Regions from separate parts of the Homo sapiens genome. Here regions 1, 2, 3, 4 and 6 are each linked to region 5. Evidence: promoter capture Hi-C in 16 types of primary human blood cells and fetal thymus (Javierre and others, 2016). All regions are on one chromosome and are shown on one strand. Each heading gives the region's core, a stretch centred on a gene start or on the middle of the fragment in contact. The rest is flanking DNA. Distances are from core to core; before and after follow the strand shown. Region 1 overlaps WWOX (WW domain containing oxidoreductase). Region 2 has its middle 14 kb from the start of CLEC3A. Region 3 has its middle 14 kb from the start of WWOX. Region 4 overlaps CLEC3A (C-type lectin domain family 3 member A). Region 5 holds the start of NUDT7 (nudix hydrolase 7). Region 6 has its middle 35 kb from the start of CLEC3A.

The links. The method cuts DNA at HindIII sites, captures the fragments that hold promoters and counts their contacts. A CHiCAGO score of 5 or more calls a contact.
Region 1: a fragment that was not itself captured here is called in contact with the fragment with the promoter of NUDT7 in region 5 in 1 of 17 cell types (naive CD8 T cells); the score reaches 5.3 in naive CD8 T cells.
Region 2: a fragment that was not itself captured here is called in contact with the fragment with the promoter of NUDT7 in region 5 in 1 of 17 cell types (monocytes); the score reaches 6.8 in monocytes.
Region 3: a contact is called between a fragment that was not itself captured here and the fragment with the promoter of NUDT7 in region 5, in 2 of 17 cell types (non-activated CD4 T cells and total CD8 T cells). The highest score is 6.7, in non-activated CD4 T cells.
Region 4: a fragment that was not itself captured here is called in contact with the fragment with the promoter of NUDT7 in region 5 in 2 of 17 cell types (naive CD4 T cells and non-activated CD4 T cells); the score reaches 5.4 in naive CD4 T cells.
Region 6: a fragment that was not itself captured here is called in contact with the fragment with the promoter of NUDT7 in region 5 in 2 of 17 cell types (monocytes and M0 macrophages); the score reaches 6.3 in monocytes.

What each region holds. Positions count from the first base shown.
Region 1 is chr16:78,106,445-78,110,291 of GRCh38, reverse strand. It overlaps WWOX (WW domain containing oxidoreductase), which reads right to left. Exons shown (of 9, transcript NM_016373.4): 2 at 1,805-1,869; 3 at 457-514. Among named protein-coding and RNA genes, the nearest start is that of WWOX, 8.7 kb to the right of the region's middle. The HindIII fragment of the contact is 4,709 bases long and covers 1-3,847 here.
Region 2 is chr16:78,006,366-78,010,029 of GRCh38, reverse strand. No RefSeq gene overlaps it. Among named protein-coding and RNA genes, the nearest start is that of CLEC3A, 14 kb to the left of the region's middle. The HindIII fragment of the contact is 7,536 bases long and covers 1-3,664 here.
Region 3 is chr16:78,083,492-78,087,182 of GRCh38, reverse strand. No RefSeq gene overlaps it. Among named protein-coding and RNA genes, the nearest start is that of WWOX, 14 kb to the left of the region's middle. The HindIII fragment of the contact is 282 bases long and covers 1,917-2,198 here.
Region 4 is chr16:78,028,274-78,031,837 of GRCh38, reverse strand. It overlaps CLEC3A (C-type lectin domain family 3 member A), which reads right to left. Exons shown (of 3, transcript NM_005752.6): 3 at 1-1,391. The coding sequence ends at 997. Among named protein-coding and RNA genes, the nearest start is that of CLEC3A, 7.5 kb to the right of the region's middle. The HindIII fragment of the contact is 3,146 bases long and covers 654-3,564 here.
Region 5 is chr16:77,719,859-77,723,763 of GRCh38, reverse strand. NUDT7 (nudix hydrolase 7) reads right to left here and starts at 1,250. Exons shown (of 4, transcript NM_001105663.3): 1 at 1,147-1,250. The coding sequence starts at 1,181. RefSeq lists a silencer at 1,275-1,404 and an enhancer at 1,118-1,412. The HindIII fragment of the contact is 15,416 bases long and covers 1-3,905 here.
Region 6 is chr16:77,985,655-77,989,452 of GRCh38, reverse strand. No RefSeq gene overlaps it. Among named protein-coding and RNA genes, the nearest start is that of CLEC3A, 35 kb to the left of the region's middle. RefSeq lists an enhancer at 3,062-3,231. The HindIII fragment of the contact is 7,937 bases long and covers 1-3,798 here.

The sequences.
Region 1 (3,847 bases), core at 454-2,953, 390 kb before region 5:
CTCAGCTCACTGCAACTTCCGCCTCCTGGGTTCAAGTGATTCTCCCGCCTTACCCTCCCGAGTAGCAGGGACCACAGGCACGTGCCACCACACCCAGCTCATTTTTATATTTTTAGTAGAGACGGAGTTTCACCATGTTGGCCAGAATGGTCTCGATCTCTTGACCTCAGGATCCACCCACTTCGACCTCCCAAAGTGCTGGGATTACAGGCATGAGCCACCATGCCTGGCCTCCCTACTTTTTTTTTTTAAGGATGCGTGTGCGGGGAAAATAGAAGAATAAATCTAGCGATGTTAAAAGTTCCAGCGATGTTAAAAGTAGTCACTTCTGCTAAGATTACAGATACACACTGTTATACTTTGTATTTTTCTACAGTTACTATGTATTACTTTTATAATTAAAAATTCCTATTAAAAAGCAAAACAGCTGAGAGTGGTTTCTTTGCAGACACTTACTCAACAAAAAACACTTGTCCGTTCTCATCAGTTTCTTGTTCCCATCCGTATGGCAAATCTGAAACACAAGAAAGACAGGTCTACAGGTGCCAGGGAGAAGTAAAGACCATCCCTGGGTCAGGAAGGGAAGGAGCCCTCCCAGCCCCGCCCCCAAGCCTGTCCCTCCCACCCAGCAGTTGTCACATCAACTGGCTTTCGTCACATGTTCCAACTGCGACAGCTGCAGAAGGCCCCTGATCCCACCCTGGGCTCCACATTTTTGCCTCTTGTTTTGAAGAAAACCTATTTTATTCCTGATCGCTCTATAAACCATACTGGTTGTGCCAATCCATGGGAATTCTCCCTTGAATGAGCTCAAAGAACATATGTATATGCAGGGCAGGCACCCAACGTCATTCATACGCTGACCTCATATGACATTAGAGGGCACGGCCATTTTTTTTCATGTGCACATGTTGATTCTTCAGCTGGATCCTAAACCTCTTAAGGGCAGGAACCTTCTCATATTTTTTTTTGAGATGGGGTCTCACTATGTTGCCTAGGCTCACCTCGAATTCCCAGGCACAAGTGATCCTCCCACCTCTGCCTCCCAAAGGGCTGGGATCACAAGCACAAGCCACCGTGCCTGTCCCTTTCTTATACTTCTATTCCGTGGATCATACATTATCTCAGAATCACCTAGAAGTCATGGTAATCTTTACGAAATTTCCAAATACTTATATATTTAATTCCATAGTATAGCCAAGAACAATTTTATAAACACTGCAACGATAGGAAAACATCATAAACTGTGAATCAAAGGCCTCAATTATTTTCTGGTTTTTGTTGTTGTTGTTGTCGCTATTTTTCAGACAGCATCTCACTCTGTCACCGAGGCTGGAGCGCAGTGGTGTGATCTTGGCTCACTGCAACCTCCAGCTCCTGGGTTTGAGCACTTCTCGTGCCTCAGCCTCCAAAGTAGCTGGAATTACAGGCGCATGCAACCATGCCCAGCTAATTTTTGTATTTTTAGAAGAGATGCGCTTTCAACATGTTGGCCAGGCTAGTCTCAAACTCCTGACCTCAGGTGATCCATCCGCCTCGGCCTCCCGAAGTGCTGGGATTACAGGCATGAGCCACCACATCTGGCCATTTTGGTACTTTAAGACCAGTAAGAAATCATCCTCACTCCACCCTATGATCTCATCATCTTCTTCTGCCAAATCCCATAAGCTCCTCAGAGTGGGAGTCTGGTTCTCTACCAGAGAGCCCTCCCTAAACACACAATAACCTGTCACCTCTCTGCCAGTGACATTTCCTCATCTACTTAATGCTTCCATCCAAGATCCTTAGACAACAACATACAAACCTCCTGCCACTCGTTTTCTTTTTCCAGTTTTTGGATGTTCCCACTGAGTCTTCTCCTCGGTGTGACTGTTAAAAAACAAAAAATCCACAGTAATAAGTAAAAATTAACTCTTCTAAAAAGTAATCAATTGTATTAAATTTTTTCTCTCCCAGATAGCCAGATATAAGAAGGAAGTAGGGGGAAGAAGGAGAAAGAGGACTGTGACCCCAGCTACGGGGTCAACTTTAGGAGGTTTGCTGAATCACTCAAAATATCTAGAGGCCGTCGGGAGCGGTGGCTCACACCTGTAATCCCAGCACTTTGGGAGCCCTAGGGGAGCAGATCACAAGGTCAGGAGATGGAGACCATCCTGGCCAACATGGTGAAACCCTGTCTCTACCAAAAATACAAAATTAGCTGGGGACAGTGGCACGTGCCTGTAGTCCCAGCTACTCGGGAGGCTGAGGCAGGAGAATCGCTTGAGCCAGGGAAGCAGAAGTTGCAGTGAGCCGAGATCACGCCGCTGCACTCCAGCCTGGCGACAGAGCAAGACTCTGTCTCAAAAATAAATAAATAAATAAATAAATCTAGAGGCATTTTGCTGTGTATTTGTTTTGGTTTTATTCCACGATGTAGGGACAAAATTCATAATATCTAATTTATATAATCTCTTAAAATGTTTATTTATTTGTGTTTCTTTTTAAAGAATCAGGGTCTCACTATGTTGCCCAGGCTGGACTGGAACTCCTGGACTCAAGTAACCCTCCTATTTCAGCCTCTTGAGTGGCTGGGACTAGAAGCCCGTGCCACCTTGCCCAGCTAAAATGTTTATTCTTTCCACAGATGTAACTTCAAAGTGTTTCATTAAGCACTGGTTCCTAACTGGTCCCAAGAGGTAGTTAAGAGATGCAGTAAGACCTTCCCATAGGGCATCTAGCTGTGCGCTGTGCACCTTTGGTCAAGTGACCCCACTCCTTAATCTCCATCCCCTCATCTGCAAAATGGAAATAATCCTAGCACTGGTCTCAGGGGCTACTATAAGAATATTGTACATCCAGGGTTTCGCATAGCACTTGGCATACAAAAAGCTCTGAGAAATGTAAGCTGTTATTCTGAACAAATCAGTTACACAAACTAGTCCTATTTTTGCGTCAAACTTAACATTTCATTTCAGACCACCACCCAAAGTTATAATTAAAAACATAGGTCAATAACTAGAAACACGTGTCACCAGGTAATAAGGTATCCAGGAAAACATACAATTATTTCAAAAGGGAAACAGCCAGGTGCTACAAGAGGTATTCGAAGGGTAGGCTGCGTTTCCTAAAAGTTCACCTACTCATGCCAACCCAGAAAGTTATATTATTTAATCAGCAACATCTAGATGATAAGATGTGAACATTCTTTCCCTATCAATTATTTTACAGAAAATAAATACAGAGAGCACGAATTTTCTAAAAAATTCTACAACTTGCAAGCAAGGTCTTTTCATGAACTGCTGGCTTCTGGTCTGTTTGACAAAGTCTTGGCAGCTGGGTCTCTGTCATAGTGCAGGAATGCCTCACTCAGCACGCTGAAGACCTGAGCAGCCCATGCTAGCTGAGTCCAGCCAGTCTCCTCAGGGCTACTGCCACCTCACAGAGCTGCTGAAAAGGCGAGACACATGACACCTGTGACAGTGCTTGGAGAACGATTAAAACCTTGTACCAGCTACGGTATCAGTAGCAAGGACAAACTCCTACTTTGTACATCAACCACCATCCAATATCACTTGCAAAAAAAAGCAGCTCTGTGGCCGGGCGCGGTGGCTCATGTCTGTAATCCCAGTACTTCAGGAGGGCAAGGCAGGCGGATTACCTGAGGTCAGGAGTTCGCGACCAGCCTGAACAACATGGAGAAACCCTGTCTCTACTAAAAATACAAAATTAGCCTGGCGTGGTGGCACATGCCTGTAATCCCAGCTACTCGGGAAGCTGAGGCAGGAGAATTGCTTCAACCCGGCAGGCAGAGGCTGCGGTGAGCTGAGATCGTGCACTCCAGCCTGGGCAACAATTGTGAAACTCC
Region 2 (3,664 bases), core at 906-3,405, 290 kb before region 5:
CAGCTTAGGAGTCAGTGTTTTATTAGTGTCTCGTTTTCATCTCAGGAGTTTTTTTCAGCGTTCGCTTTTCCCTGATCAGCAGAGGGACTGTCCAATTTGCACTGGATGCTGTTTTTCGCTAAAGGGTTTCTTCAAATGGAAACCAGACAGGAAACGCTCGCAGAGCCGGGCCAGTTAGGTGTGGAGACAGCAAGTCCAGGAGACAGGCTGATGTCCCTGAAAGACCCACATTCACCATGCCTGGCTTCTTTCTATAATTTATTTCTGCCCAGCGAGACTTGGGCCACCCTCCAAAATATATACCAGATAGCTCGGATTATTGTTGAAAAACCTAGTACTTGCCTTGAGTGTCCCTTACTGAAAATAAAGAAGCAAAGACAGCCTCTGGCCTGGCTTTATTCATGGTAGTTTAGCAGGAACCAGAAAAAGAATTATTTCTTTTTTTTGAGATGGAGTCTCGCTCTTGTTGCCCAGGCTAGAGTGCAGTGGCATGATCTCAGCTCACTGCAAACTCTCCCTCCTGGGTTCAAGCGATTCTCTTTCTCAGCCTCCCAAGTAGCTGGGATTACAGGTGCCAGCCACCACGCCCAGCTAATTTTCATGTTTTTTTAGTAGAGACGGGGTTTCACCATCTTGGTCAGGCTGGTGTTGAACTCCTGACCTCGTGATCCACCTGCCTCGGTCTCCCAAAGTGCTGGGATTACAGGCGTGAGCCACCGTGCCCAGCTCAGAAAAAGAATTATTTCTAATCAAAAATTAAAAGGATATTACTAAAAGGGGATTAATATATTGGACTTTTAAGCCATCATTAAAATTCTGCTATAAAAGAACGTTGATTAACACAGAAAATACCCATGGAATATTTCCAAAGGGGAAAAGCAGTTCATACAAAAGAATGCAGGGGCTCGGCGTGGTGGCTCACGCCTGTAATCACAGCCCTTTGGGAGGCCAAGGTGGGTGGATCAGCTGAGGGCAGGAATTCTTCGAGACCAGCCTGACCAATATGGTGAAACTCCGTCTCTAGTAAAAAACACAAAATAATTAGGTGGGTATGGTGGCGTGTACCTGTTAGTCCCAGCTACTCTGGAGACTGAGACAGGCGAATTGCTTGAACCTGGGAGGGCAGAGGTTGCAGTGAGCTGAGATAGCGTGATTGCACTCCAGCCTGGGCCACAGAGCAAGACTCCGTCTCAAGAAAAAAAATGCAGGCGGTAGAGAGCCATGGGTGAGGGATGTGTGCAGATGAGTATCTGTATGGTAGGGATAGGTCAAAATAATAGTGGTTCCTTTGAGAGGATGAGATGGTAGTTTTTTTTTTTTTTTTTTTTTTTTTTGAGACGGAGTCTCGCTCTGTCGCCCAGGCTGGAGTACAGTGGCGCGATCTGGGCTCACTGCAAGCTCCGCCTCCCGGGTTCAGGCCATTCTCCTGCCTCAGCCTCCTGATTAGCTGGGACTACAGGCGCCCGCCACCACGCCCGGCTAATTTTTTTTTTTGTAATTTTTTAGTAGAGACGGCGTTTCACCGTGTTAGCCAGGATGGTCTCAATCTCCTGACCTCGTGATCCACCCGCCTCGGCCTCCCAAAGTGCTGGGATTACAGGCGTGAGCCACTGCGCCTGGCCTTCTCTTTGTTTTTCTAAGTCTTCTGCATAAAACATATCAATGTTTTAAATAGACGTTTTATTGAAATATAAACAGAAACGTTTCCAAATTGGAAGCATATCACTTTCTGATTTTTCATAACATAAATAGGAATGCGCCTCTAGACCTGGCTATAAAGCAAGCTGGAGACTGGCAGCTCTCCCGACTTGTCTTTGTGCCTGTCCCAGCCACGACTCTACGAAGGGTAAACATCTTCAGTGGCTTTGGAAAGTGTCACTTGGCGATGCTCAGCTGTGTCCCAGACTTCCCTGTGTGTGTCCAGTTAAGGTGAGCCACCAGCTTTCCTTGCAAGATACCAAAGCAGGATGCAGTGAGAGGTGCCCATCTCCATGGCTGGCCCTGTGGACCCCAAGTGCCAGCATTAGAGCTTCATAGGTAGCAGTTTATAGACTGTTTAACCGGTATGCACAATTACACAGGGTCAAATCCCTGTAATAAACCCTTTAAAGTGTGTGTGTGTGTGTGTGTGTGTGCTCGGCACACACCTGCAATTCCAGCACTTTCGGAGGTCAAGGCGGGCGGATTGCCTGAGCCAAGGAGTTGGAGACCAGCCTGGGAAACATGGCGAAACCCTGTCTCTACTAAAAACATAAAAAAAGTAGGTGTGGTGGTGTGCACCTGTAATCCCAGCTACTCTGGAGGCTGAGGCATGAGAATCACTTGAACTGGGGAGGTGGAGGTTGCAGGGAGCTGACCGAGATCATGCCACTGTACTCCAGTCTGGGCAACAGAGTGGGACTCTGTCTCAAAAAACAAAATGGAGTTTAAAAAATAAAGTGTGTGTGTGTGTGTGTGTGTGTATACACACATGTGTATCTCCTGATGCGCTTTGTTTCCCTGAGTCCTGTGTGACACAGCATTAGAGGGTAGGTGGTGGTGACCCACTTCCAGATGGTTCCCAATGACTGCTCCTTACTTCTTGATATTCATTCATACTTACATAGTCTCCTCTTACACTGAACAGGGATGACCTGTGTAATGGATAGGATATTGTGCAAATGGGAGTATGTGACCTCCAAGATAACGTCATAAAAAGTATTGCAACTTCCACTTGTCTCTCTTGGATTGCTTGCCCTGGGGGAAGCCAGCGGACATTCAGCCAGAACCACCCAGCTAAACCACTCCCAAACTCCTGACCCTTAGAAGACACTAGATGTTGATCATTATTTTGAGTTGCCAAAGTTTGGAATAATTTTTTTTTTTTTAGAGACACGGTCTCATTCTGTTTTCCAGGCTGAAGTGTAGTGGTGCGATCATAGCTCACTGCAACCTTTAGCTGCTGGGCTCACACGATCCTCCTCCTGCAGCCTCCAGAGTAGCTAGGACTACAAGTGTCCACCATCACGCCTGGCTAATTTTTTTTTTTTAAGTTTTTTGTTAGAAACGTGGTCTCCCTATGTTACCCGGGCTGCTCTCGATCTCCTGGCCTCAAGCAATCCTTCCCCCTCAGCCTCCTAAAGCACTGGGATTACAGGTATGAGACGCTGCACTTGGCCTAGGGGTAATTGTTACACAGCATTAGATCCCAAAATTGTGAACAAATGATTGTATTTTTGGCTCTGAGTTTTAGGCTTGTTTGTTATCTAACAATAGATACAAAACTCATTTCTAAAATCCTGACAGTCATGCTACAAATCTGAATCGGTTAGTTGTATGTACTGCTGTAAAGAAAATCAGGCCGGGGCGGTGGCTCATGCCTGTAATCCCAGCACTTTGACAAGCTGAGGTGGGTGGATCGCTTGAGGTCAGGAGTTTGAGACCAGCCTAACCAACATGGTAAAACCCTGTCTCTACTAAAAACACAAAAATTGGCCGAGCATGATGGCGGGTACCTGTAATCCAAGCCACTCAGGAGGCTGAGGCACAAGAATTGCTTAAACCCAGGAGGTGGACGTTGCAGTGAGTCAAGATTGCACCACTGCACTCCAGCCTGGGCAACAGAGAGAGACTCCATCTCAAAAAAAAAAAAAAAAGAAAAAGAAAAAAAGAAAAGAAATCCAGT
Region 3 (3,691 bases), core at 808-3,307, 360 kb before region 5:
GTACAACGAATGCGCAAATACTCCTGCCCCCATATTTGCTTTATTATGTATATAGTAGAGTTGGGGGTCTTGTTATGTTGCTCAGGCTTGTCTCATATTCCTGGCCTCAAGCAATCCTCCCACCTCGGCCTCCCAAAGTGCTGGATTAAGAGGTGTAAGTCAGCTTACTCAGCCCATATTTGCTGTAAAGAGCCCATTCTGTTGTGTGAGCTCAGCTAGATGAAAATGCATTGCCAGCGTCATGACAATTGACCTATGAATACATCAGCAGGTCTCTCCTAAGAGTGAGGTTATTATTCTCCATATCCCCAATGCCATTTTCATACCTAAGAAAATGACTGATATCTCCATTATGTCAATTAATTGTACCTAAACTATTATTTTGGGTTTTTAAAATTGAGATACAATTCACATACCATAAAATTCACCACCCCCTCAAAGTGTACAATTCAGTGGTATTTAGTATATCTATAGAGTTCTGTAATCATCACCACTATCTAATTTTAGAATATTTTCATCACCCCAAAAAGAAACCTATTAGTACTCTCTCTTCATTCTCCATAGCCCCTAATCCCTGGCAACCATTAATTGACTTCCTATCTGTATGAATCTACCTGCTCTGGGCATTTCCTATAAATTGAATCAAATAACAAGTAGTCTTTTGTGCCTGGTTTCTTTCACTTAGCACAACGTTTTTGAGGTTCATTCATACTGTAGCAGGGATCAATACTTTGTCCTTTTTATGACAGAATAATATTCCGTTATATGGATGTGCCACATTTTATTTATTCATTCATCACTTGATGAACTTTTAGGTTGATTTCACTTTTTTGGTTATTATGAGTAATGCAGCTATGCACATTTTTGTGTAGGCATGTGTTTTCTTTTCTATTCTTTTTTGGTAGAGACAAGGTCTCCCTATGTTGCCCAGGCTGATCTCAAACTCATGAGTTCAAGAAATCCTCCTGCCTCAGCCTCTCAAACTGCTAAGATGACAGGGAGGAGCCACCACTCTCAGCTGACATGTGTTTTCATTTCTCATAGCTAGGAGTAGAGTTGCTGGGTCATATGGTAACTCTACACTTCACTTTTTGTAAAATGTCTTTTATAGCTTTGTCCCCCTCTGAGCACCAACTCATTCAAGGTCCATGCATTGCACTTGGTCGCTTGTCTCTTTGGTCTCATTTATTCTAGAGATTTGCCCCCCCCCCAAATCTTTTTCCCTGTGACAATGACATCTAAAGGTTCCAGGTCATGCCGTCTTACAGAATGTGCGCCAAAGATTCTTCTGATTATTTCCTCATGGCCCTATTTAAATTGCTCCTCTGTCTCTATGTCTTCTGTAACCTGGAGGTAAGACCAGAAGCTTTATTAGATTCTTGGCAAAAATTGTTCTCAGGTAATGTGTAGTATTTTCTACTGTTTTGGTGTTAAAATGTTTTACCTTTTATGGAAGGTGATAGTGATGGCAGGGTATTGATTTGTTTTCTCACTTTTATTTTATTACTTTTATTATTATTTTGGATAATAATAATACCCAGGCTGGAGGGCACTGGTATGACTGTGGCTTACTGCAGCCTCAACCTCCAGGGCTCAAGCGATCCTCCTACCTCAGCCGTCTGAGTAGCTGGAACTACAGGAGTACACCACCACATCTGGCTAATTTTTAAATTTTTCATAGAGACACGGTCTTGCTATGTTGTCCAGGCTGGTCTTGAACTCCTGAGCTCAAGTGATCCTCCTGCCTGGGTGTCCCAAAGTGCTGGGATTACAGGTGTGAGCCACCATGACAGGCCAGTGTTTTTGTTTTTTTTTTTTAAATGGTCTTTCTTGACACATTGATAAAGTTGATAATCTCGCTATAAAACTCATTAAAAACAATGCACAAATAACGATAAAAACAACAAACCAAAGCTTTTCTCTATTGCGTGAAATCTGAAAGATTGGGATTCATTAAACTAGGTAGCTTGTAAACCTAGCACCTATGATAGGCTGTGAAATGGGTTCCCTGAAGCATAACAGGGAGAGCCTGATTTTGTTTTATCATGAAAGTCCCCAGGACTAAGTAATAAAGCACATTTTCTCCTGGGCCACACTTAGGCCCTCTCCCTTGGTGAGTGCATTCATTGCTGTGACTTCTGGAAATTAGGCCTCTAAGTTTGGAAACTTCACTGGAAACTTCACTGAAGCCCCAAGCTTCAAAGTAGCCGTAGCATATAATGGCTAACTTGCTGGCATTGGTAAAATGGCATTTCAGTCCAACTTCATTCCTGTCTGCAGGGAAAAAAATCACCCTCCCGTGGGGGCAGGTATGTTGGACCCAAGCACTCAAAAATTGCAGCAACAAGTCCATTCTGTCTAAAGTCTTTTTTTTTTAATTGAGACGGAGTCTTGCTCTGTCACCCAGGCTGGAGTGCAGTGGAGCAATCTCAGCTCACTGCAACCTCCGCCTCTCAGGTTCAAGTGATTCTCCTGCCTCAGCCTCCCCTTCCCGAGTAGATAGGATTACAGACACCTGCCACCATGCCTGGCTAATTTTTTTTTTTTTTTTTAGTAGAGACAGGCTTTCACCATCTTGGCCAGGCTGGTCTCGAACTCCTGACGTCAAGTGATCCACCCGCCTCAGCCTCCCAAAGTGCTGGGATTACAGGCGTGAAATACTGTAAAGTCTTTCATTGTCTGTTTAGAGTGTCTTATTTTGGCTGCCGAAGTTTTGAAGATGCCGCTCTGATCCATTGCTGTTATAATCTTGCAAGTAAGTTCTTCCAAAGAGTCCAGGGCCTGGAGCCCAAGATTCACCCCAGATTTTGACAGACATGCACATGCAAAGGTACCAGAAAGTGGGTGAAGGGAAAAAAGGAAAGGAAGTGATGACTACAAAGCACTCAGCACAGCACCAGGCACAGAGTAAGCACTCAGTACCTGTTAGCTATCGTCATTGTTGTTGGTGATTAAAGCTGGGCTGGCAGAACCTTAAGACTCAAAAATGAGGCACCACTCTGATGTTAGATCTGACTTTAAAGTATATGCATAACTGTATGGAACGTTTTCCAAGCATTATCAGATACACCATCATCAGGAGTAGATAGAGGTGGGTATTAAAAGCCTTGCTCTATAGAAGCAATAACTGAGGCTTAGTTTAGCAAATAGCAAAGACTTAGCAAATGGTAAAGCAGAGACTCAATCCAAATTCTCTCAATTCTAAAGTCTGCAAGTCTGCATTTTTGGGGGTTTGTTTGTTTTTTGGGGTTTTGTTTGTTTGTTTGTTTGTTTTTGGAGACAGGATCTCACACTGTTGCCCAAGCTGGAGTACACTGGCACAAAAACAGCTCACTGCAGCCTCAAACTCCTGGGCTCAAGCTATCCTCCTGCCTCGGTCTCCTGAGTAACTGGGACTACAGGAGTACACCACCACACCTGGCTAATTTTTAAATTTTTTGTAGAGACAGAGTCTTACCTTGTTGGCCAGGCTGGTCTTGAACTCCTGGCCTCAAGTAATTGTCCTGCCTCAGCCTCCCAAAGTGTTAGGATTACAGGGATAAGCCACCTCACTGGCCTGTGCAGTATTTTTAATCACCTCGCTGTACTGCTTCCCATGTTTGGCACAAGAAATCTGAACTTACCAACCAAATGAATTGTGTTTTCTCTGCATGTGTGGAATCTGCAAACAGCTTTGTGGTTCACTCCTTTA
Region 4 (3,564 bases), core at 977-3,476, 310 kb before region 5:
GCAGAATAAAAAATTGCACAGACGTATGCAATTTTCCAAGATAGCATTCTTTAAATTCAGTTTTCAGCTTCCAAAGATTGGTTGCCCATAATAGACTTAAACATATAATGATGGCTAAAAAAAATAAGTATACGAAAATGTAAAAAAGGAAATGTAAGTCCACTCTCAATCTCATAAAAGGTGAGAGTAAGGATGCTAAAGCAAAATAAATGTAGGTTCTTTTTTTCTGTTTCCGTTTATCATGCAATCTGCTTCTTTGATATGCCTTAGGGTTACCCATTTAAGTTAGAGGTTGTAATGCAATGGTGGGAATGAAAATTGATCAAATATACACCTTGTCATTTCATTTCAAATTGCGGCTGGAAACTTCCAAAAAAAGGGTAGGCATGAAGAAAAAAAAAAAATCAAATCAGAACCTCTTCAGGGGTTTGTGTTCTGATATGGCAGACAAGATACAAGTCCCACCAGGAGATGGAGCAATTCAAAATAAGGGTAATGGGCTGACAAGGTATTATTGCCAGCATGGGACAGAATGAGCAACAGGCTGAAAAGTTTTTGGATTATATAGCACCTAGAGTCTCTGATGTAGGGAATTTTTGTTAGTCAAACATACGCTAAACTTCCAAGGGAAAATCTTTCAGGTAGCCTAAGCTTGCTTTTCTAGAGTGATGAGTTGCATTGCTACTGTGATTTTTTGAAAACAAACTGGGTTTGTACAAGTGAGAAAGACTAGAGAGAAAGATTTTAGTCTGTTTAGCAGAAGCCATTTTATCTGCGTGCACATGGATCAATATTTCTGATCCCCTATACCCCAGGAAGGGCAAAATCCCAAAGAAATGTGTTAGCAAAATTGGCTGATGCTATCATATTGCTATGGACATTGATCTTGTGTTGCAATTTTTTAATAAGTAAAAATTATGATTTTTACTTGATCTTAGAGATCATGAACCTATAAGTTATGATGAATCTTGCTTGGAGGACACATTGGAGAAAGACCTATTGAGGGATGGTGAACTCGCATATGTATCTCTTGCTGCTGCGACAGGCCTCATCACTCCACTTGCCCTGAGCTGATTGGGAGAACAGGACACAGTTTTCTCGCTTGCCACCGTTAGGCTGTGCACGGTCCCAGTTGAGGAAGGAGATAGCGATTCCGTTGACGTCAACAAACTTGCCTTCCGTGACCATGTCATTGATGCCCAGCCAAAAGTCATTGACACCTGGCAGGCTCCTTTTACCATAGTCTTGGAGGGCGTTGATTTCGTCGGAGTTCCTGGGGATAACCAGGATTCCTCCTTTGGAAATGCAGTCTTCATTGGCCTCATGGAAATGCTTCAAACCTTCTGAAGCAAGGTAGCATTTCTTGTGAACTTTAGTGCCTCGGAGACAGACTGTGAAGATGTGAAGTGTAACATATTAAGATGCATTTTGAGTGTATTATGACTAGGGCTGGACCTGGCAAATAGCAATAAGTATTTGTGGAATGAAGTATGATAATGATGAGACAACAGTTAAAATTTTCTATGTGCCGGACAACATGCTAAGCATTTTACATAAATTAAGTTACATAATCCTGACAACCCCATGAAGTTGTATTTTATTACCCCTATTTTTACATATCAGGATATTTAGGCTTAGAGAAGTTGTTACTTGTAACACCTTAGCATTTTTTTTTTTTTTTTTTTGAGTTGGAGTCTCGCTCTGTCGCCCAGGCTGGAGTGCAGTGGCGCCATCTCGGCTCACTGCAAGCTCCGCCTCCCGGATTCACGCCATTCTCCCGTCTCAGGCTCCCGAGTAGCTGGGACTACAGGTGCCTGCCACCACACTCGGCTAATTTTTTGTATTTTTAGTAGAGACGGGATTTCACCGTGTTAGCCAGGATGGTCTCGATCTCCTGACCTCATGATCCGCCTGCCTCGGCCTCCCAAAGTGCTTGGATTACAGGCGTGAGCCACTGCGCCTAGCCACATTTTTTTAAATGAAGTAATTTTTGCAGCATGTGAGATCACAGCTACCCAAATGCAGGTCTGCCCTATCCCAAGACATGGCCTTAAACTTCATGCTGTTCTGATATATACATGCTTGCTACTCTGTGTTGGATTTCTTTGGGAGTTTTGGAACTAGATGGTATTTAATATTTATTTTTAAAAATATTTGTTTAAAAAAAAAATGCTTGGCGTGGTGGCTCACACTTATAATCCCAGCACTTAGGGAGGCAGAAGCGGGTGGATCACAAGGTCAAGAGTTCAAGACCAGTCTGGCCAACATAGTGAAACCCCGTCTGTACTAAAAATACAAAAAATTAGCTGGATGTGGTGGTGTGTGCCTATAATCCCAGCTACTCAGGAGGCTGAAGCAGGAGAATCGTGCGAACCTGGGAGGCAGAGGTTGCAGTGAGCCGAGATTGCGCCATTGTACTCCAGCCCGGGCAACAGTGCAAGACTCTGTCTCAAAAATCAATCAATCAATCAATCAATTAAATTCTAGTTTTGCATGTGGAGAGACAGGGATTTTCTTAAGCAGATAACTGAGCCTTGGTAATATTGTTTAGATTATTCAGGATAAACTGAGCATAAAGATAGTTTTAGGCCGTAGCACTGGAGAGTCAGGCCTCAGAGCCCATAGTGCCTGGGTTTAGGTCTCATCTCTGACATTTAACTAGCTGTGTATCTCTTGAACAAATTACTTACCTTCTTTGTGCCTCATTTTCCTCATCTGTAAAATTAGGATCATAATAGCTTAAGTTGCTGGAGGATTAATGGATTTGTGTTTATAAAGAATTTCTAGTACCTGACTGTGGGTAAAGGATGAACCAAACTCACCTTCTGCATAAGCATTTGACTGTCTTTTAACTTTCTAATTCTGTTCCCCCGGAAGCCTGATAAAGGGAGTATGTCACCCTTGTTACTAGGCAACATTGCTTGTGGTAAAAATGACCCCAGGTTGGTAACATGCATCTGGTCTGGGAGTTATAAATACTTGATGGAAAGCCGTAACTTCAGTCTTCCCTGAAGGCAGTAACTTGTAATGAGGCAGGTCTCTTGTGAGGAACCTCAACACCTTGCTTTTGAAATTGCTACAAAGGATATTAGCTCCTTGGGGGATGAGCCTTGTAAACCAGGGCTGTTCCCAAACCTGCCCACATGGCTCACTTCCTCACCCCTTGGAGAATAGCTCCTGGGCAGTAGCGCATGTGGCTGCATAACTGTGGGGAGGAACGCTGGCGCTGCCCTGTTGGCAAGCTGCGGTTCTAACCCATGTCCTTCCAGCATCTTAGGCTGGGTGTGGCCCGAGAGAGTCCTGGTGGCCTGATAGGCACTTAGCTATCATCCAATAAATGCTAATCATTTTAGTCATTTCATACTGGCTTCATTCTGTTTCACTACTCTTTAGAGAATAAGTATGGACTGACTTTTCAAATTTATTCCTGAACTACTTATTTTTATTTCTATACCACCCATATATAGGAGAATGGGATTGTAAATGAAGCTGATTTCCTAAAACAATCATCTCCCGGCATTGGGGCCCTCTTATTGGCCACATTATTGATTTGTCAATGTTTCT
Region 5 (3,905 bases), core at 1-2,500:
AAAAATTAGCCGGGCATCGTGGCACATGCCTGTAATCCCAGCTACTCAGAAGGTTGAGGCAGGAGAATCGCTTGAACCCAGGAGGCAGAGGCTGCAGTGAGCCGAGATTGCCTACTGCACTGTAGCCAGGGCGGCAGAGTGAGACTCTGTCTCAAAAAAAAAAAAAAAAAAGTGTATACAAATGACTTCTCTGAGTTTCATCTTCATTTGTGTCAGGCTTGAGGATATTTAAGAAGATTAAATGATGCAGTTCATATACTGTGGCTGGCACACAGCTGGTGCTCAGGGAATGGTAACCACTGTCATAAATCTCCCCATCATTAGATAAGCAGTTGTTTGCAGGAGGTATTTGCTATTTTTTGCCTCTTTCTAGGTGGCAGGGTGCTCACCAGATGTGGTTGGGTAACGGCAGTGTATTTCAAAGACCAAATGGCCTGAAAAAAATCAGTGAATGCTGGCACAGGGATTGCACAGTGCATCTGGATGCACGCAGGCCAGCCTCCAGAAAAGGAAACTGTGGGCTGGTGGCTTTTAACCACCCGGAAACCACAGAACTGACCAGACAAACCAGCCAAAGTAAAAGGCTGCAAAAACGTTATCTGTCCACTTTAGGGGCTGGCCGCTGGAATAATCACCAAGGTATCAACAGCAGTAGCAGCCACCCCGTTCTGAGCATGGTCTCAATTTTGACGTTTCTCATTTTATCCTCACAACAGCCCGGCAAGTGATCACAGGGTCACCTCCAGGCTCAGAGAGTTTACGAAACTGACAGACCCAAGGTCACAACTGAAAGTAGCCACCGGGGGACTTGAATCCGGGGCTGCCTGCTGCGGGTCTGTGCCACTGTCGGGGGTCCTGGGGTCCAACTCTGGAGACGCGGATTGCAGAACAGCCAAGCCGGCTGGGAAGGGGAGCAGCGTGTATGTAAACCATACTGGCTTAAGCCGGCTCTGTTCCTGGCCAGAGCAGTGCAAAGGTTCGGGGACCCTGCGGGTTGCTGGAGGCGAGTGCTCCCCCATCCGGCGCTCGCAGGTGGACTGGCGGGAGCTGCAAAATCAGTCCCGGCCAAAAGGCCCCGGTGGCCTCCGCTACGATCAAGGCCGGGCCTGACCAAGCTCGGGGTGCCAGGGCCCGGAAAGCCTTTACCTGACTGGCTCCTCGGGAAGACCAAGTCGTGACATTGCCCTGGGGAATGTTTGTTTCCGGGCGGACTCCTCGGAGCTGCTCGGTCGGTCGCGCTTGCGCAGAGCAGCTCTGGGCTTGGGAGCGGCCTAAAGCCAGAGAGAGGGGCGGGGCTTAGAGCACGAGGCGGGGTGGTGTCTGGGGCGGAGACAGGGGGCGGGGCGGTGCGAGATCTGGGATCGGAGGCCGGGATCGGGGCGGGGCGGGGCTTATAGCCAGAGGCGGGACTTGAGGTGGGGAGAGGCGCGGGGCGGGACTTAGGGCCGGGTGTTCCTGGTTGCTCAAAGCAGTTTCTGCCGGGCTCCTTGGGCTTCTATGGAAGCAAGAGGTATAGGAGGAGTTGTGGAATTTAGAGCTGGAAGAGTTAAAAAAAAAAAAAATACAGTGTTGGTGAGGTGATAATATTTTACACTCGCATTCGCTGTTGCTGGAAGGTTAAGGTGATTCATTCAACTTTTTGGAACTGCTGTCAGCACCTGTTCACCGACCACCTGTATGCACTGGGTGCAGATCCCACAGCTAGCGAAAAGACACGTGGAGCTCACAGTCAAATGGTAGAAACATAAATTAATCACACAGGGCTGGATGCAGTGGCATATGCTTGTAATTCCAACACTTTGGGAGGCCAAGAGGGGAGGATCACTTGAATCCAGGAGTTCGAGCCCAGCCTGGGCAACATGGCGAAACCCCATCTCTACAAAATAAAAATAAAAAATTAGCCAGGCGTGGTGGCACACACCTGTGGTCCCAGCTACTCAAGAGGCTGAGGTGGGAGGATCGCTTGAGCCCAGGAGGTCGAAGCTGCAGTGAGCCGTGATAGCACCACTGCACTCCAGCCTGACAGAGGTAGACCGTCTCAAAAATAAGAAGAAGAAGATAAGAAGTTTTTAATGCAAAAAAAAAAAAAAAAAAAAATCACACTGATAAAGCAGTGGCCTTTGGTCCTTCTAGAGCGTGTGAAGGAGAAATGTGACCCAATTAGGAGACAGAAGAGGCTTGGTAGAGGAAATAGAAGTGCAGCTCATCTTGAAAGCAGTAGTTCTCAAAGTGTGGTCCTCAGACCAGCAGAATCAGGATCACTTTGGTCCTGTTAAAAATGTGGACTCTGGGCCAGGCGCTGTGGCTCACACCTGTAATCCCAGCACTTTGGGAGGCCAAGTCGGGTGGATCACCTAAGGTCAGGAGTTTGAGACCAGCTTGGCCAACATGGTGAAACCCCATCTCTACTAAAAAAACAAAAATTAGCCAGTGGCAGGCGCCTGTAATCTCAGCTACTAGGAGGCTGAGGCAGGAGAATCGCTTGAACCTGGGAGGCGGAGTTTGCAGTGGGCCGAGATCGCGCCATTGCACTCCAGCCTGGGCAAAAAAAAGCGAAACTCTGTCTCAAAAACAAAACAAAACAAAACAACAACAACAACAACAACAAAAACCAAGAAAGAAAGAAAGGAAAGAAAGAAAAGAGAAAAGAAAAGAAAAGAAAAAAGACGAAAAGAAAAGAAAAGAAAAGAAAAGGTGGACTTTGGGGCCCATGTCACAACTGCTGAATCAGAAGCCAGGTGTCAGGCCCAGTGATCTGTGCTGTAAGGGGATTCTGATGCTCTGTGCGGGATAGAGGACATAAATGAGGAAAAAGGCAAGGGAGAGTGTTCAAGGAAGAGGGCAAAGTTTGTGCAAAGACAGCAGAAAGGGGCTGGAGAACAGTGTGTGTGAGGGAGCCTGGTGCGAGCTGAGAATCCAGGGGTCAGTGTAGGGCTGACTTCTCCCTTACAGGCACAGGACACACACAGTAATTTTAGGGACCTGTGAAAATGTTTTAATTGTAATTTCTTTTTAAATTAGAAGAAGAAAAGGTATGTAATAAAAGCAATATATAATAATGAATCCAGCTTGGATGATAGTCATTTTATGAATTCAGTCATAAAATATTCACTTTAAAATTATTTTATGGAAGAAGGGGTGCACAAAAACAAAGTAGCTAGGGCCCATGAAAGTAATATTGTGGCTGGCCCTAGGTCAGTGGGGCAGTTTGTGAAATTATTAATGAAATGAAATATTAATGAAATATCGCTGTGATATTTACAACATCCAGTGTTTACACACCGTGACATCAATGAAATATCGATGTGATATTTATAATATCCAGTGTTTACACACTGTGATATTAATAAAATATGGCTGATATTTGTAATATACAATGTTTACACACCGTGATATTAATATAATATCGCTGTGATATTTATAATACCCAGTGTTTCCACACTGTGATATCAATGAAATGTCTCTGTGATATTTGTAATATCAAGTGTTGATGCACCATAACATCAATGAAATATCACAGATATTTACAACATCCAGTGTTTACACACCATGACCTCAATGAAATATCAATATGATATTTATAATATCCAGTGTGTACACACCGTGATATTAATAAAATATGGCTGTGATATTTGTAATATACAGTGTTTACACACCGTGATATTAAGCAAACATCGCTGTGATATTTATAGTATCCAGTGTTTACACATCGTGATATAAATGAAATATCGCTGTGATGTTTATAATATCCAAGGTTTACAAACTGTGATACCGATGAAACATCGCTGTGATATTTATAATACCCGATGTTTACACAAAGTGTTTACACACTATGATGTTAAATATCGTTGTGATTTTTATAATATCCCGTGTGAAATTAATGAAATATCACTGTGACACTCATA
Region 6 (3,798 bases), core at 531-3,030, 270 kb before region 5:
TTTGTCTGTGTTTGCATCTCTCTTCTTAAACTTCAAATTACTAGAACATTCATTTGACCTTCCCTGGGTCATGAGCCTCACTTGAGTAAGCAAGGGCTAGGCACGTTGATTTACAGAAACCCCAACACAATATATAAAGGGTGGGTCTTTCCCCAGAGGAAAATCAGGGGCAATGGACAAAACACATCACAATTACAGTTGCTTATGTACCAGGCACTCACATAAGCATCTTACACCTACTGACTCATTTAATATACACCATAACCTGATAACACTTCAGCATCATCATACCCTGCTACAGAGGAGCCAGCAAAGGTCCAGAGATCAAATAACTTGGTCAAGGTCATCCAGCTAGTAACTATACAGCTGGTCAGGATTCAAACCCAGGCCATCTGTCTTCAGAGTCTCTAGTTTTGACCACAGAACTATGAGCCAAATTTGGCAGGCAAAACCAAGAGTGTCCATCCCACCTCCATTCCATAGAGCTTCTTTATCCTCTATCCAAACACCACCTCTTCCACTGTTGCGCCCCCAAGCCCCATGCATCTCTTCTCTTTATGCTTCTAGCTTTTTCCTGGTGATTGATGTCCCTGTCTCACACCATCTTCTCAACCATGGACTTTTTTTGGAGGTGGGGAGACAGAGTCTTGCTCTGTTGCCCAGGCTGGAGTACAGTGGCACAATCTTAGCTCACTGCAACCTCCACCTCCTGGGTTCACTCCATTCTCCTGCCTCAGCCTCCTGAGTAACTGGGACTACAGGCGCCGACCACCACGCCTGGCTAATTTTTTGTATTTTTAGTAGAGATGGGGTTTCACCGCGTTAGCCAGGATGGTCTCGATCTCCTGACCTCGTGATCCACCCGCCTCGGCCTCCCAAAGTGCTGGGATTACAGGAGTGAGCCACTGCACCCGGCCCAACCATGGGCTTTTTGCCAGCAGTGGCCAGGCTGTGTTTAACTTCTTCACAACATGCAAAACAGGGCCATACACATAGCCAAGGCTTAGTAATATTTGTAGAACTGAATCAAGTCTCTTTCATAATATTAACATTAGGAGGGAGAGTGAGAGAGAGAACGAGAGGTCCTGAGTAAGAATGGGAGTTTTAAAAATACACTCTGAATTTATCTAGTTAATAATTAAATTATCTAAGTGCAATTTAATGATAGACTGACTTCCTTCATTGCTAGTTGATTAATCTCAAAGGACCATTGGGATAATTAAACTTCTGCCTCCAAACAAAGACAAGCAGAACAGCTCTTAACATCCGCGGTCAGCCTGAGCAGCAGCCTGGGCTCAGTAAATTGATATTTTGTTTGTTTTAGCAAAGGATGAAGAGAACAAATGTATTGTGATTCTTGGGGCTGGTCTGATTCCCTTTTTCCCAGCATAGCCCATTAATTCATCACTGCTGCTGGGTCCTCTCCTGTTGGCCTTGGATAGAGTTCTCCAGGATCAGGAAAACAGCAATAATCCCTTCTCACTCCCTCAGGCTTTTGAAATACTGTGAAGGGCTGGTCCCAGAAGTCAATTTAATTATGACACTAGCTTAGCTGTTGAATAATTTTTTCCAGCTTAAGCAGTAATGCATGTTTTCAGTGACTTGGACATTAGAGAGAACTTGGCTTGGTTTCTAAGCCCTAATTCTGGAAACTCAGTTGCTAGCTGTGTAGTTTTGGGCACTTTATTTTACTTTTCTGTGCTTCATTTTGTCATCAGTTAAATGGAAATAGCATCACTTACTTTATAGGGTTTTTTCTGGGTGTAGTTGGCAAGTTAAGACATGTAAAATGCTTTTACTTGGGTTCCACAATAGTATCCCTCAAGACAAGGACTTGGGTGGAAATGGTTTATTGGGAATGTGATCTCAGAAAGCAGGAGCAGGAGTGGGAGAATGAGACAAGGAAGGAAGAAAAGCCAGTAAGGGGCATGCTGTTGACTGAGTTGCCATTGTGGGAAATTTGCATTTCATCCTGCCAAGGGGCCCTTTGAGCTACTGTGTGGAACACACCTTCAAATCATGCGACTAGAAGGTGGGAAATCTTGGCATTTATCCACTGGCTGCCATCTTCCACTGGTTGAAGCTACGACCTGCCCCCCACCACAGTAACTCTGGGTTACCCCCATGCATTCGTCTCCTGTGATGTTGGAGGAAGCCTGCAGGCACAGTAGAAAGACCAGTGCAGGTGCTTGATGTGGAAAGCTGTCCCCATGCCAGGAACTGTCTATAGCTGCAGGTGAACTCTGGTGCACCAAGACAATATGTGGTGGGTGTCAGTGGTGATTTCTACAGGGGCTTCAAACAGTGTCTGGTACACAATGAGTATTCCATATACTGTAGCTGTAGTGGACATAGGTTTAACCATCCAGCATCACTTCCTATAAGGATCCTTCTGCAGCTTGACATGGTCCTGATTGGCTTATCAATCAGGTTGCTGGAACCTACAGGTGTGGGTATGTGACCCGGGCTGGCCAATCAATAGCCATCCCTCTGCTTCAGTGACTGTTTTACAGACTAGCATGTGACCAAAGATGGGCTAATCGGAGCCTTCCTGAGAGCACCTTGGTTCACACTAAAGCTAGTGAAGAGAAAGTTCTTTTTCTTTGCCAGGTGGTCGTTGGAATGCCTGGCCTCCATCTTGTCCCAGCCATTGAGAGGAGTCTTTCTGTCACATGGAGCCCTGGGTTCTAGACCGGACTCTTCTGCTTTCCGACTGAGTGTACATAGGCAGGCCACCTAACCTCTCTGAAATCCAGGATCCTTATCTGTAAGTGAGGATAATGCCTGATTTTCTAGGCACTGCCGCGATTCAGTGAGGGTATGTGTCAAATGCCTGGCAAGTAGCAAGTCCTCGGCAAATGCTAGTTTCATTTCCATGGTTGGTCTTGATTCAATTCCATTCTATGGGCATCTGTCAACTCTGAGCTCGGGCACGTTTTTGAAAACGATTCCAATCTTTTGAGTGTCAGTGTTTGTGAATATGCTGCATGGGTCATTTGCACTAGTTTTAACTCCCATGAATGGTGATTTACTTTCTGGGAGCTTCTACTTCCATGGAGACGATGCCCCATATCTCCAGAAAGACAGAACCACAGCCCCTCCTTGTCTCACAACTCCTGAAATGGAGAGGAGTTCTTTTGTTCCCATCCATGCCAATTCCATGGGCACCTTATCTCATGACTAAATAGACAATGGGTGGATGCTGGGAGACTGGCCAAAGAACTGTTATTCCAATATGGCACTTTCATCTGTTCCACCTCCCACAACTGAACCAAGTGAAATAGTAAAGCTCATTCTGGGAAGACTTCCCATGGTCTTCTCTTACTTGAGACACTCTCTAGCAATCTCTTGATTCATCCCTCAGTGAATTATTCTGCTTTTAGTACAAAATCCAGAACCTTTGAAGTGAAATCCATGGATTTCCATAATCCAGTCCTATTGATTTTCTATCTTTCCTCTTGATGCATGCAGTGGTTAAGTGGACCATTCCATGAACCTACCCTGGGCTTCCTCACTGATGGACCTAATGATAGTTACTTCTCCTAGATGTCTCTCTTTGCCTGTTCCTGATAGATATTTCTCATCAATTACAGCCTCTTTGCCACTCGGCCCACATAAATGCCCAGTACCAAGGCAGGCTCTACAAACAAATTGCCATTTGCACAATAAGTACCTTATTTATTACCACATAATTAAACTGAGTTCCTGAATGGCAGGGGCTATGCACTTATTTTTGCAGCTAAGACACTAAAAATAATATGTCGGGAACATACTAGGCATTTGATCAGTGTTTTAATG